2 separate regions of the Homo sapiens genome follow, and region 1 is linked to region 2. Evidence: promoter capture Hi-C in human tissues and cell types (Jung and others, 2019). All regions are on one chromosome and are shown on one strand. The core of a region is centred on a gene start or on the middle of the fragment in contact, and the rest is flanking DNA. Distances in the headings are between cores, read along the strand shown. Region 1 has its middle 30 kb from the start of LINC01010. Region 2 holds the start of ALDH8A1 (aldehyde dehydrogenase 8 family member A1).

Evidence for each region. Contacts are between HindIII fragments. The study calls those that stand out against the background at their distance.
Region 1: a contact is called between a fragment that was not itself captured here and the fragment with the promoter of ALDH8A1 in region 2, in 1 of the 25 tissues and cell types used here (adrenal gland).

What each region holds. Positions count from the first base shown.
Region 1 is chr6:134,404,122-134,410,848 of GRCh38, forward strand. No RefSeq gene overlaps it. Among named protein-coding and RNA genes, the nearest start is that of LINC01010, 30 kb to the right of the region's middle. The HindIII fragment of the contact is 3,600 bases long and covers 492-4,091 here.
Region 2 is chr6:134,947,958-134,954,671 of GRCh38, forward strand. ALDH8A1 (aldehyde dehydrogenase 8 family member A1) reads right to left here and starts at 2,144. Exons shown (of 7, transcript NM_022568.4): 1 at 1,959-2,144. The coding sequence starts at 2,096. The HindIII fragment of the contact is 10,358 bases long and covers 1-6,714 here.

The sequences.
Region 1 (6,727 bases), core at 1,042-3,541, 540 kb before region 2:
GTTCTAGGCTGCAGTCAGCTATGATGGTGCCACTGCATTTCAGCCTGGGTGACAGAGCAAGACCCTGTCCCATGTCTCATATATATATATATGATTTGGAAAATTGTTGTTTGCACATGAGGCACTGAACATTGAAAACTCTCTCTCTCTCTGTATGTGTGTATATATATATATATATATATATATATATATATATATACTCTCTATGTATATATATAAACTCTATCTCTTTCTCTCTCTGTATATATATAGAGAGTATATATATAGAGAGAATATATATAGGTATATATATATTCTATATATACCTATATATATAGAATAGATATATATAGATATGTCTAGTCTATATATATCTATATATAGAATATATATATAGAATATATATATCTATATATAGATATATATATAGAATATATATATCTATATATAGAATATATATATAGAATATATATATTCTATATATCTAGTATATATAAATATATATTTATATAAATATATATCTAGTAAAAATATATAATATACATATATGCATATATATTTCTGATAGGCTACTCATTGGGGAATGAAACGAATAATTAATTAGATAGGCTGGTTCTTGTACAGATGAACAGTCTACTGCACATTTTGTTTTCTTGATAAATAGAATGTTGGGCCATGAAGATCCAGTAATACAAATTTTCTTAGTATATAACTTCGTCTAGTGTCTGTTATTCATTCACATTAGGCCCATAGGGAGGAAGATAAAACAATTTTTTAAGATATATGAAAAAGTACATTTCATTATATTCCTATTAATCAATTTGGATAATTGTTGTTTGCACATGAGACACTGAACATTGAAAACTCTATAAAAGTGAATTATATAAAATATGGAAAGAAGAGAAAGAAAAAAGCTATAATTATTTAGCAATTTCCAAAATATTTCAGCCTCAGTTTCAGGCCTCCTCCTTTTAAAGTGGAGAAGAGCTGCACACTGGGGACTAATTTGCATTGATAACATGCTGTGCCTTAATGGACCCTCTGCAAAAGCTGAGACTGTGAATGGGATCAATAGTGCAGATTCTTTACTAAGGCTTTTTAATGCATTTAACCACAACTGGGTATTAGTCTTAATAAGCTTTCCAAGCTTTGACTATTATTGTTCCTTAGAGTATTAATAAGAAATACAGAATTGCGCATTGTATTCCCATTAAATAAGCAAATTCATATTAGAAATTATTATGAAGCTAATTATTTAGGAAAAGAAAAGCCATGCTCCTGGTTGGGAAATCACGCCATTATACTGCCAGAAAATGAAAATACCCTTCATTCTTGGAACATCTTCTCTGAAGCAATGTCTGAGTATATTTCTCCAATCTAAATCAATTATTTTGCTTCTCGGCATGAGGGTGAGCAAAGTCACCTACCTGCATGAATTTGGCCTTTCTGGGTTGAGAGGCTTCCCCAAGGCCTGGAGGAGACCTGCAAGGCTGGCCAGTGGGTTGTTACGGAGTTGAACTCTTCCACTGGGGGTTCACTGTTGCAGCTGCCATTGACTGTCTACTGAGCACTGGGCATGTCTCATGTACTTATTCATCCCTCACAAACAAAAACCCTACTTTGCAAACATGAAAACAGTACACACATCTAGAAAGTGGGAGCTCAACTTCAAACCCAAGTCGATACAACTCTTAAATCCTTTATTCTTTCTAAGGCACGAACCTGTCTCTGCTGGGAATTAGCAAAAGGAAAAATTCCTTTCTGGCTTTAAATATGCAGGAATGAGAGTAGCGCAGAGGCTTCCTATTTTCTGAGAGGTTGGCTGGGTCTACACTCAGTTACCACAGAGGACCTGGGAGGTGAAAAGAGATTCTGTATTGGTCTCTTCCTTCATACATTAGTTGAACTTGAAAAGAGAAGTAGAGTCATTAAATTGGTTACCTGACACTTTCTGGGAAGAGGTAAATATTATCACAGTTTTTCATTTAGACAATGCCAGCCCAGAAATATTAAGAAGTATCTCTCATAGTCAAGGAAGTGGTAATACGGTGCAAGTAAGAAGCTGGGTTGAACTGACATTTTAGATTTCTTACTGGGCTTTAATTGCTACACCATATTTTTAAACATTAAAATGTCTCCGAAGTGTTCGGGCAAGAAATTTTTAAACATCAAAATGCAATTCTCTGCCTATTAACAGTCATTTAATTTGGAAGTATCTAATTGAGTTTTCAGATTTTAAAGAACTTACGGACTGGAAACTCATATGCCATATTTCAGCCCCAAGCTAAATTTTTATGGGCAAGTTATAACCTTTCTAATAGACCTTGAACCACTGTGACTTTTCCTTCAGGTATAACTACAATGATCCTTTGCTTGAGTTTGATCTCCACCTGGACTTGAATCTGTAATGAGTCATCAGCCAGAGTCTATGTTTCCATCTCAGGTAGACAGCTGGGTGAAAAGGTCAAAGAAAGCTGATCTTTTTTAAAATGGTCCCAGCAAAAATATCTCATTTAAACTCTTCTGGCCAGGTGCGGTGGCTAACGCCTGTAATCCCAGCACTTTCGGAGGCCGAGCTGGGTGGATCACGACGTCAGGAGTTCAAGACCAGCCTGGCCAAGATGGTGAAACCCCATCTCTACTGAAAATACAAAAATTAGCCAGGCGCACTGGCACACGCCTGTAATCCCAGCTACTCGGGAGGCTGAGGCAGGGAATTGCTTGAACCAGGGAGGTGGAGGTTACAGTGAGCCCAGATCATGCCACTGCACTCCAGCCTGGGCAACGGAGCGAGACTCTGTCTCACAAAAAATAAATAAATAAAAGAAAAGAAAAATAAATAAATAAAAAATAAAATCTGTAAGTTGGCATTTTCCTTTCTTCTTTGTATCAGTGCCTGTGCTTTGATGAACAGGAGAGAATAAACATTCGGTTTACATAAAATTTGTTAATGTATTTGGCATCAGGGCTTATGAAGCTTCAGAAAACAAAGAGGTAATAATATTATACTTAAAATGTTAGATTTTATGTCAGATACTGTGGGCATGTTTTTGAACGAGCGTGACTTGATACGTAGTCAAGGGACACTTTCATATAAAAGAGGATGGTAATAAGTCACAGGCAAATTAGTGGTGCACACAGATTTCTACGATTAAGCTTAATCCAAATGTTCCTACAAGAAATGAACTGCAAACAAGCAGGATTCAGGCTTCCAAAGATGTAACCATCCAAAATGCCTACTACAAAATAGTGTGTCTCAGTCTTCATAGTTTTATTGTAGTAATTTGAAGGATTAAATTACTACATTTAAGTGGAACTTCCAGAACAATATCTGACAAGTATTGGAGGCTGTATAAATATTTGTTGAGTAAATGCATGAATAGATGAATGAATAAGAAAGTGACAGCATCAAGCAAGTTCCTTTTGTGTTGCATTGACTTTAAAAAGAGTTTTTAAGTCTGAAAGTGCTCTCAAGGTGAATATGACTGCACTGCAGAAACAATTCTTGAGCAAAATAAGTTTTCTATGAAAGAATTCCTGCATGGAAAATTACTGTTGGTATCCTCAGAATTTGTTTGACAGAAACACCAAGGAATTTCAAGGGTAAAGACAACCTGGTTTTTAGCCTCAAGAAGGACAGGTATAGGTTTCCAGGTATGAGGTTATGAATGCGAAGGAGAAGCACCTGACATGAGGGATATCTTCACACTTGGATGCAGCCAAATGCCAGTAATATTTCTGAAAGCTTTTCCTGTGGACCGATGAAGGTGTAGAAGCTGTGGGTTCTACAGAGGACCCAGGACCTATGCCAGGACCTAGATGATGAAGCCACTATGAGGCAATTCATAGTTGCCTGGAAAGGCACTGAATCCCTAAAACTGAATATGTGGCGTGTAATAGGAACTGCATCATGGATTTTGAAATCAGACTTCTTGAATTTGAATAAAAACTCAACCAGTAGCTATGATTCTTACTTGACTTTGTTGAGACTCAGTCTCTTTGTGTGAAAAATGAAGGTAATAAAACCTACTCTATAAAGGAGTGAGTGACTATATGTAAAATGACTAGTCTCTTAGTGATTAGCTGGATAAATAGTAACAATTGACATTATTGAACAAACACACTTCTACTACTTTAGACAGTTACACATTGTTTATTGTGCATTTACTATAAGCCAGATGTATGCTAGGTATCATATTTAGTGTTGATTAAACAAATATGGCCTCCATTCTTACAGAGTTTACAGTCTAAGAGGGAAGATAGATATTAAACCAATAATCTTTAGGCAGAAAATTCAGAAGATATAAAATGGCCTTTGGCGATCCAACAATCCAAGCATTACCATTTCCAACTATTTGTGACTCTTTTCTTTCCCTGGTCTCCTTCTCTTCTCATGGACTGTAGGGAATTTCAGAAGAAATGTAGGACTATTCACTTCTCTAGTTGTAACAGGTTTCAAAGTTACAGGCTTCAAGAAAGCTTAATTTGGGTTATTCAATATCTTGATCAATATTTTTATTGCAGAGAATAGAATCTTCTCCAGCTAGCATAAGCAGAATGGTATGTCCTAGGAAGTATAAATAATTCCCAAACTATTGAGAGATCTGAGGAAATGGGTTCAGGCTGATTTGCCAGAAATGAGCCTCAAACCACACTGCAGAACCAGACCATTAAGGATGGTGCGTAGAGGTGACAGATATTGATCAGGAAGCTATGAAATAAAGAAATCGCCACCTTACCTTCCAGGTGCAAATCCACGCCTCTCTGCTACAGTCTACACCAGCAAAGTGAGTGCCTGTACCCTGCCTTTATCCCCATGTGACTCAGTTCTAGATCAAAGTTTTGTGTGCATGCATCTAACTGGAAGTGCCCAAAGCACATGGAGAGCTGCACTGCAGACGATTGGCAGATGTGGTATCAGCTTTCTGGCCTTGCAACTTTCACAGGGGCCTGGAGTGGGTAAAGAGCAAGGCAATGCATAGCATCTATCATAAAAGTAACTGGTAGGAACAGGCTAATTGATTGATCTAGGGCATCTCTTTATAAGAAGAGCAGATTCTCTTGCCTCTTCAACCATTTCATTGGCTTCATTGCAGAGGAGCTACCCTTTTTAGCTCTTTAGTACCCTGATTCAGTTCAACCTATAATAGATGTTGTCATTCTCTGGGTCTTGCAATCCTTTTGTAGTAAATGCCCGGCCTGAGAGAGGTGATTTATTAAGAGAATGCTATCAGCATCAGATGTCAGTTTTTTTATGTGCATGGAGTTTCATTACCAGTTTTGCCATTTGCTAGTTAATATGACTTGCAGGTGCAGCTGGTGAAATGGCTCTAGAAATGGAATGTAATTTCTGTGGCCGATCCAAATCTTTCAACCTCCTGATTTGTTTATCGGAAACCAAAACTGTTAAGAAGAAAGTTAAAAAGTAGGGAAAAAAATTTTAAAAAGCTATCATTTGTCATAAGTTCCAAAACAGAAGTCTGTGTGTGTGTGCATGTGTGTATGTTGACCAAATTTATTTACTTATTTATTTAATTTTTTTGAGATGGAGTCTTGGTGCAGTGGCGCGATCTCAGCTCGCCGCAACCTCCGCTTCCTGGGTTCAAGCGATTCTCCTGCCTCAGCCTCCCGAATAGCTGGGATTACAGGCGCATGCCAGTATGCCTGGCTAATTTTTGTATTTTCAGTAGAGATGAGGTTTTATCATGTTGGCCAGGCTGGTCTCGAACTCCTGACCTCAGTTAATCTGCCCACCTCGGCCTCCCAAAGTGCTGGGATGACAGGCATGAGCCACAGCACCCAGCCCCAAAGTTAAACATAACTAATTAGAATCAGGTGAATGTGGATTATGGGTGTTCATAGTTGGTAAAAATTAAGTTCATCAGTTTCACAGTCCATGCCAACCGTTCATCAAAGACAACATCTTCACAAATAATGTTACTCTCCCATCTGTCTTAGAAAGTTTTCCTCAGCCAGGCGCAATGGCTCATCCCTGTAATCCCAGCCTCCTGGGTGATTGTGACAACCTTTTAAATCTAGATAGAGGAAGCCATGTTCTCACAGCTCTTGCATTCTCCATGCCTGCAGACTTAACATCATGTGGATGCCACCAAAATTTGCTGTTTGCATCTTCTGAAGCTGTGGCCTGAGCCACACCTGGGCCTCCTCAAGCCATGGCTAGCACAGCCAAGGGGTGCCGTGCTGGGATGCAGAGAGCAGAGACCTGAGACAGCCCTGGGCAGTAATCCAATGAAGGGTGTCCTGGGTCTATCCCCTAAAACCATTTTGCCCTCCTAGAGCTCAGCCTGTGATAGGAGGGGCAGCCTTGGAGATCTCTGAAATGCCTCTGGGGTCTTTTTTCCCATTGTCTTGAGGAACAGCCCATGGTTTCCTTCTATCTGTACTAATCTCTTCAGTAAATGGTTGCCTGGCCACATCCTGGCATGCTTTATAGTTTTTTACATGGCCAGGCTGAGAATTTTCCAAGTTTTTCTGCTCTGCTTCCCTTTTAATTATAAATTCCATCCTTAAATAATTTGTTTTCTCTAGCATCTTACTATAAGCAGTTAAAAGTAGCTGTGCAGCAGCTTGAGTGCTTTGCTGCTTAGATATTTCTTCTGCCAGATAGCCTAGATTGTCACTCTTAAAATCTGCCTTCCGTAAAGCCCTCAGGCATGGACACAGTGCAGCCAAATTCTTTGCTATGTTTTAACAAAGATGACCTTTACTCCAATTTCTGATATGTTAT
Region 2 (6,714 bases), core at 894-3,393:
TGTTGAAGCACTATTTACAATAGTCAAGATATGGACTCAACCTAATGTCCATCAACAGCTGAATGGATAAAGAAAATATGGTATATATACACAATGGAATATTATTCAGCCATAAAAAGGAACAAAATCCTGTCATTTGCACCAACACGATTTGAGCTGGAGGATATTACGTTAAGTGAAGTAAGCAAGGCACAAAAATACAAATATTACATGTTCTCACTCATATGTGGAAGCTTAAAAAAGTTGATCTCATGGAGGTAGAGAGTACAATTATGGTTACCAGAGGCTGGGAAGGGTAGAGGAGAGGATAGAGGTTGGCTAATTAATACAAAAATATGGTTAAAAGGAATAAGTTCTAGTAGAGTGACAATAGTTAACAATAATTTATTGTATATTTCACAATAGTTAGAAGAAAAGATTTGGAATGTTCCCAACACCAAGAAATGATAAATGTTTAATGTGATGGAGATCCTAATTACCCTGATTTGATCATGACACATTGTATGCATGTATCAAAATGTCACATATGCCCATAAAGATGTACAATTATTATGTATCAATTTTTTAATTTTTTGTTAAAAAAGGGCTTAATGACTGCAAAGCACAAAGCAAAAGTTGAATAAACGGGAGCCACTGTTAGCAGCACCAGCAACATTTTCCTGAGTGATGTTTTGGAAATTGGACATGCAGTTTGTATGGTAACCATATTTTTCAAGCCGGAAAAAACTATGACTTATGGGATCAGATAGGATATTTGGAAGTTGGATTGCTGAGAAACTGAACATATCTATTACTCTACTAGCTAGCGCATCCATAGCTCATTCTATTTTCTAAAAAGTTATGAGCCATTAGCTGCAGGAAATATTTCAGCTGAATTTGGCATGTTTGTCATTTTTAACTTCACTTTGGCAAACAAGGAAGAGTGGAAAACACAAAGCTGGATTTCCCAGAGCTGTGTTAAGTCATTTGAAGCAAACAAAATTGCAGTTTATAATTTAACCAATGCATTAACCAACATTTGCAAACATTAATCCCTAAGTCTGAAGGTTTACTTTAAATGCAAGACAGATTTGAAGTATTAACAAAAAAGAAAAAAAATAGCAATGTTCTTAAAAAAAAACTTTGCATGGAATATATATTTTTATAGGAAGACTATATTTTAAATAATCTAGTTATTTGTGCCTTAAAAAGAATAAATTATAATTCATAAGGCATTAGATGACTATATATACATCAGCTACATTTACCACTTCAGATATATTTACATTCTCAGTGCAATAATTGATAGCTAATCAAATATATCTCAAATATTTTACAAAATTCTCCAAGTAAAATTAATTCTACATCACCAAAAAAATGTAATGCATATGCCATTAAACACTTTGGATAAGAAAAAAGACGCTGTTAAATCTAACTCCAAAAATATATGGGAATTTGATTTTGAGTTTCATCATTCAAATGATTGATTTTATTTTACTAGGTATTTTGAAGACATGACAAATTATGAGAAGACAATCTAAAACAAAGCCCACAGTTTTTTGCTTGTTTGTTTATTTTAGTAAAGCTATACTTTTTTTTTAATTCCATGGATATAGTGGTAAATTTAAGCAGTGCGTGGTGGAGAAAAGGGAATATTTAACAAAGTGATAGCTCTTACAAATAATACTTTGTACTAGACACTGATTAGGAAATGTTTGAGAATTGCAAAAAAAAACTGCACACAGGGCTGTGTTAGGTTGGCTAGAAAAATGACTTACTTTCTGCATATAGGAAGAGATTTGTTCTAGGTATCATACAGTCCAGTTACAAGGTACATCTTCTGAGAACTAGAATCTTCCTTCTATCATGTTTAACAATCCTACATCTTCCCCCAACTCCCTCTGCTTTTAGAAAACTGTTACCCATAATTGGCCAACATATTAAACACATTTCAGTCTTCTTTAAGTGCATATACTCACCTCGTCTTTTCCACTATTTGGCACTCTGCAATACACTTCCCCTGTTGATGGGTCGTAAGAATCTATATATGAGCTACAAGGTAAAAATTTTCCATCTATGAAGTTTTCCAGCATCAAAAGTGCGTTTGTTCCAGCCATAGCAAGGAAAAATTCTGCCTTTCCTCTTTACGACTGAGCACTCAGGTTGTCCCCACCACTGTCTGGACTCCTGAGTGAGCCTCCCCCTTCCCAGCCCCCATCTTCCCCTTTACCAATCAGTGAATGTGGGAGGGCACCTGACGCTCTCAGAGAGCATTCCAGTCTCCAAACTCAGAACTAAGAGAGTGGCTGAATGTTTCACAGACTTCTAGTACATTACCTGACATGGATAATTGTGTGTAAAAGTAACAGCTACTTACTTATGTGTTCATAGCCCTTTAAATCATCAGAAGGCATCTGTGCATGTGATTTTATTGGGTTCACACCGTAAACTGTTCATTGCTCAAACACTGATTGGATGCCAGGCCCCAAAGCAAGTCCTTTACATGAATTTACTCGTTTATTCCACACAACAATCCTATATGAAGTAACCATTACTTCCTCTCTTTTATAGAAGAAACTGAGCCTTGGAGAGGTTAGACCATTTTTCCAAGGTCACATAGTTAGCAGGGGATGAACTGTAGCCCTTTAATCTCCAAATCATATACTTTTTCCTCAATGCATCACTGCTTACCCTGCAGAGGTAACTGAAGACAGATGCCCTCTTTCCGTGGCTCATCTGTGTTTCTTTACCTTGGCTGCCCTCTCTTGGAAGAGCTGTCTCTCCATCCCAAAACCGGGGCCACAGTGGCTGCTCACATCTTCCTAGATGTGCCATGGAGATAAAGACAAGCCAAAAACATGTGTGACACATATAGCAAGGGCTTCAGATCCCTGATGTAGCTGAGAATTTCTACAAATTGGTAAGAGAAATGAGCACCCCAACAGAAAAGATAAGCAAAGATACAAAAAAGCAATCCATAGGAAAAGGAACACAATTGGCTAATGAATATATTAACAATGTTCAGCCTTGTTGTTAAGCAAGGAATGTGAAATACAGAGGTGGCCTGATTTGCCAATCATACTGGAGAGCATTTTTAAAGATTGAGAACATCTACTCTGTGAGGATGTGGAGAATCATCCCTAGTCCATAGGCGGGAGGGTTCACAGAACACTGCTTGGGGCAATTTGTCAGGGTCTGGTCAATTTCTCTTCTAGGAATCTCTCCTACAGAATTACGTGCTCATGAACAAGTACATAAGTCACAGGACATCCTTTTTTATCATAATTTAAAAATCAAAACAACCTAAAGTCCATCAATTGGAGAATATTAGAGTATAATTGTTATATTCTTAACAGGGAATACTACTTAGACATTAGAAGGATGCATTGTTAAGTGAAAAAATAAAACTAGTGAATAATATATACAGCATAGTTTCTTTGGCTATTTACATGGTTGACAGGAAGCCGTTTTAAACTGCTTGGATATTTTATGGCAAGCCTATATTACTTTTATAATTATGATTTATAGTTATAATTCAGTTGAAGGTTAGGTACCAATATTCTAAAATTCATTGATCACATGAGGGCACTTGCTGGCCGTGCACCTCCTTAGGCCCTCTCTGCTTCCATCTTTATTGGTCTCTAGATATTCTCCAAAATTCTTGCTGAGACTTCTGACAAGCATGGTGTGGCTGATTCTGGGAGGCCCAGAGCAGCTGGAGTCTGGAGCTGGCGCCGTTGCCTGTCGCTGGAGAGTCGCTGACAGGGACTGGAGACAGAAGGTAGTCTCAGGCTTTTTCTGGTGCTGCCCACGGTCAGGTCAGCTGGAAACAGAATGAGAGAAATACGCAGGTCCCAGCCCTGGCACCACAGAGTGAAGTACCAAGAAGTGAGCTTGGTGCTGAGAGACAGTGAGTACCACCCGGTGTGTGCATAAAGACTTCTGTAGCCCATCTTCCTGGGTCTCCAACAACTCTGCCTAATGTTGATGGACTCATCAGAATGTTTGTCTTTTTGTACAGAGTGCAAAAGATTCTAATGGGAGGACTATGGAAGGGAGATCTTTTTGAAGAAAGGACTTTACCCAGGATAGCATGAGAGAGGAATTTTCTGCCACGTGACAGTAGAAGAGGACAGAAGCCGGACACGGTGCTTCTAAAGAGTGCCTGGTGCTGATCAGAACTCCCCACACAAGATCAGTCCCAGTGGCAGAGCAGGCGTGTCTGTCAGTTACAGTGGCCTCCTTGTGCCATTTTCTTGTGCCATTGGCTGCTCAAGCTGGGCCTTCGCTGGTTTTTCTTTTTCTTTTTTTTTTTTTGAGACAGAGTTTCACTCTTGTTGCCCGGGCTGGAGTGCAATGGCATGATCTCAGCTCACAGCAACCTCTGCTTCCTGGGTTCAAGCAATTCTCCTGCCTCAGCCTCCCAAGTAGCTGGGATTACAGGTATGTGCCACCACGCCTGGCTAATTTTGTATTTTTAGTAGAGACGGGGTTTCACCATGTTGGTCAGGCTGTTCTCAAACTCCTGACCTCAAGTGATCCGCCCTCCTCAGCCTCCCAAAGTGCTGGGATTACAGGCGTGAGCCACTGTGCCTGGCCTCGCTGGTTTTTCATAATGTACTTGGCCTTCCCCCACTTCCCCCTGTCAGCCCTTTTCTGTCCACAGTGCAACCATTTGATCCCCACCTGCAGGTCAACCACAGAGATGACTCTGGAATCAGAGCTCAGCTGAGCTGGGAGACTTTCATCCTGGAGGACAGAGCATGGGCCTCATTCAGAGTCTGGTCATGTCAGTTGACCCCAGTCCTGATACCTGAGCTCTGACATGCCTTCAAGGCCTTTTCTCTAAGTTGGCACCAACGTTTCTCCTGTCGGTTTCCCTTGAAGAGACATGAAATCCTATATCTGGGCCTAGTGGCTGAGAACCTACTTCTAGGTAGTTCTACCTGCTTCACTGGACATGTGGGTATCACCTGCTCCTGAATTATTCTGGCTGGCTCCATCTGCTCGCCAGTGTGTCCTGCTGAATGCAGATCTGTTCTTACCACATCCCTGTAACAGCATTCTGACCCATGGGTGAAACGTACTCCCATTTGCGGTCACAGAATCCACCCCCCACCACATCCCAAGGGGTGGATTCACTGCCAGGTCCTGCACAGTGAGGACAGGGGACTCAAGACCTTGAGTGCAACTGAGAAAAAATTATAAATGGGAGGTATTAAGTATACTAATATTCTAAGAGAACTAGTTGCTCTAGAATATTACAAAAGAGAATAGGGTGTTTTTATCTAATACAACAAAAGTTATTCTCTTTAAAAGGGGAAAGACAATCCTGATTTAGGGGGCCCCAGGTGTACTGGAGTTTTGTTTTTACCCACAGTGGTAAACAAAAATCACAGCATGGTAGCATGAGGCAGCTGGGAGGGGTACGCTAGACTCAGGAGAAACACAGGATGGGGAACAGAGAGTGCCATGAGTGAAATGGAGCCATCAGAGTTCATTCATTTGGAGAAGGATAGGGGAGGATGGATACAGAAGCATGGAGAGGAGGTTGAAAGACAGACAAGATGGTAATTCCAAATAAATACCTGTTCTGGGGCGTCATTTTCCTTCTGTCTCCACAAGAACCTTGCTCACTGGATTATCATCTAACTTTTCATTCTTCTCCTCTCTCCTGGCGCTTTCAGCCTTTAAATGAGCTCCTCTCTCCAATATCATATCATATAAACAAAATAATATAATAAACAAAAATTTAAAAGAACTTTCTCTGGCTCTCTGGCCTCTGTCCTCTCCTCTATAATCCTTCTCTCCTACTGAAAACATTACACAGAATGAATGAAAATGAAAAGTGCTGTTGTTATAGGAATAACTACCCTCACTTATATGTGGCATGATGTTGTTCTCTTGCCCATTTGCCAGCCCCTCAAACCCCAATCTTCTTAGCCTCACTCCTAGGAGGAACTTTTGTGCACAATCGCATGTCAGAATTATCCTATGCAAGGTTATCAATATGAAACACTAGAGGTTTCTTTGGTTGCATGTGCTCCACTCTGAGGAATCTGGGGACGTGCCCTTGCCCTCCAAGGTTAGCGCTCAGAATGGGATCACTGTCTTGGGATGATGGTTGCAGGATCCCCCAAGAGATAGAGCTGAAGGCTAGAAAAACTGAGTGAGGAGAGGAACAAGGTATAAGAGAGAAATTCAAGAAGTATGTATATGGGATTCTGTTTCAAGTGTGAACAGATAAGACCTTAACACGTATGCTTATATTAAACTCAGCCATTTTGGGGAAAATGCTAGGTGTCCCCTGTGGTGGCCACCCTAATGTTCTCTAACATACAGTTCTCCTCCTGAGTACTCCTCAGCCCCTTTGCAATGAGGTGGGGCTGTTTGGATAGTTCTGGCCAGGGTCTTTGAGTAAACGCCAAGCCTGCTGGGGACTGTCCACTGTCTCTCCCACTTCCATATAGACCAGGAAGGCTGTGTGTTCCAGGTGGCAGGTACAGGATGAAGAACCTCTGTCAGCCTGGACTGCTGAGTCACTCTATGGAGTACAGTCTTATTATGTGGTGATAATTAGCATGAAATAAACATGTGTTTTCCTATACCACTGTATTTGGGGGTCAATTTCTAACCAATCACAGCATAAACAAGCCTACCCTGGTTAGCAGGCATATAACTTTAGTTGGCTAAAATTTCAAAATTTCTCATTGATGCTATCTTGCAGATACCAGT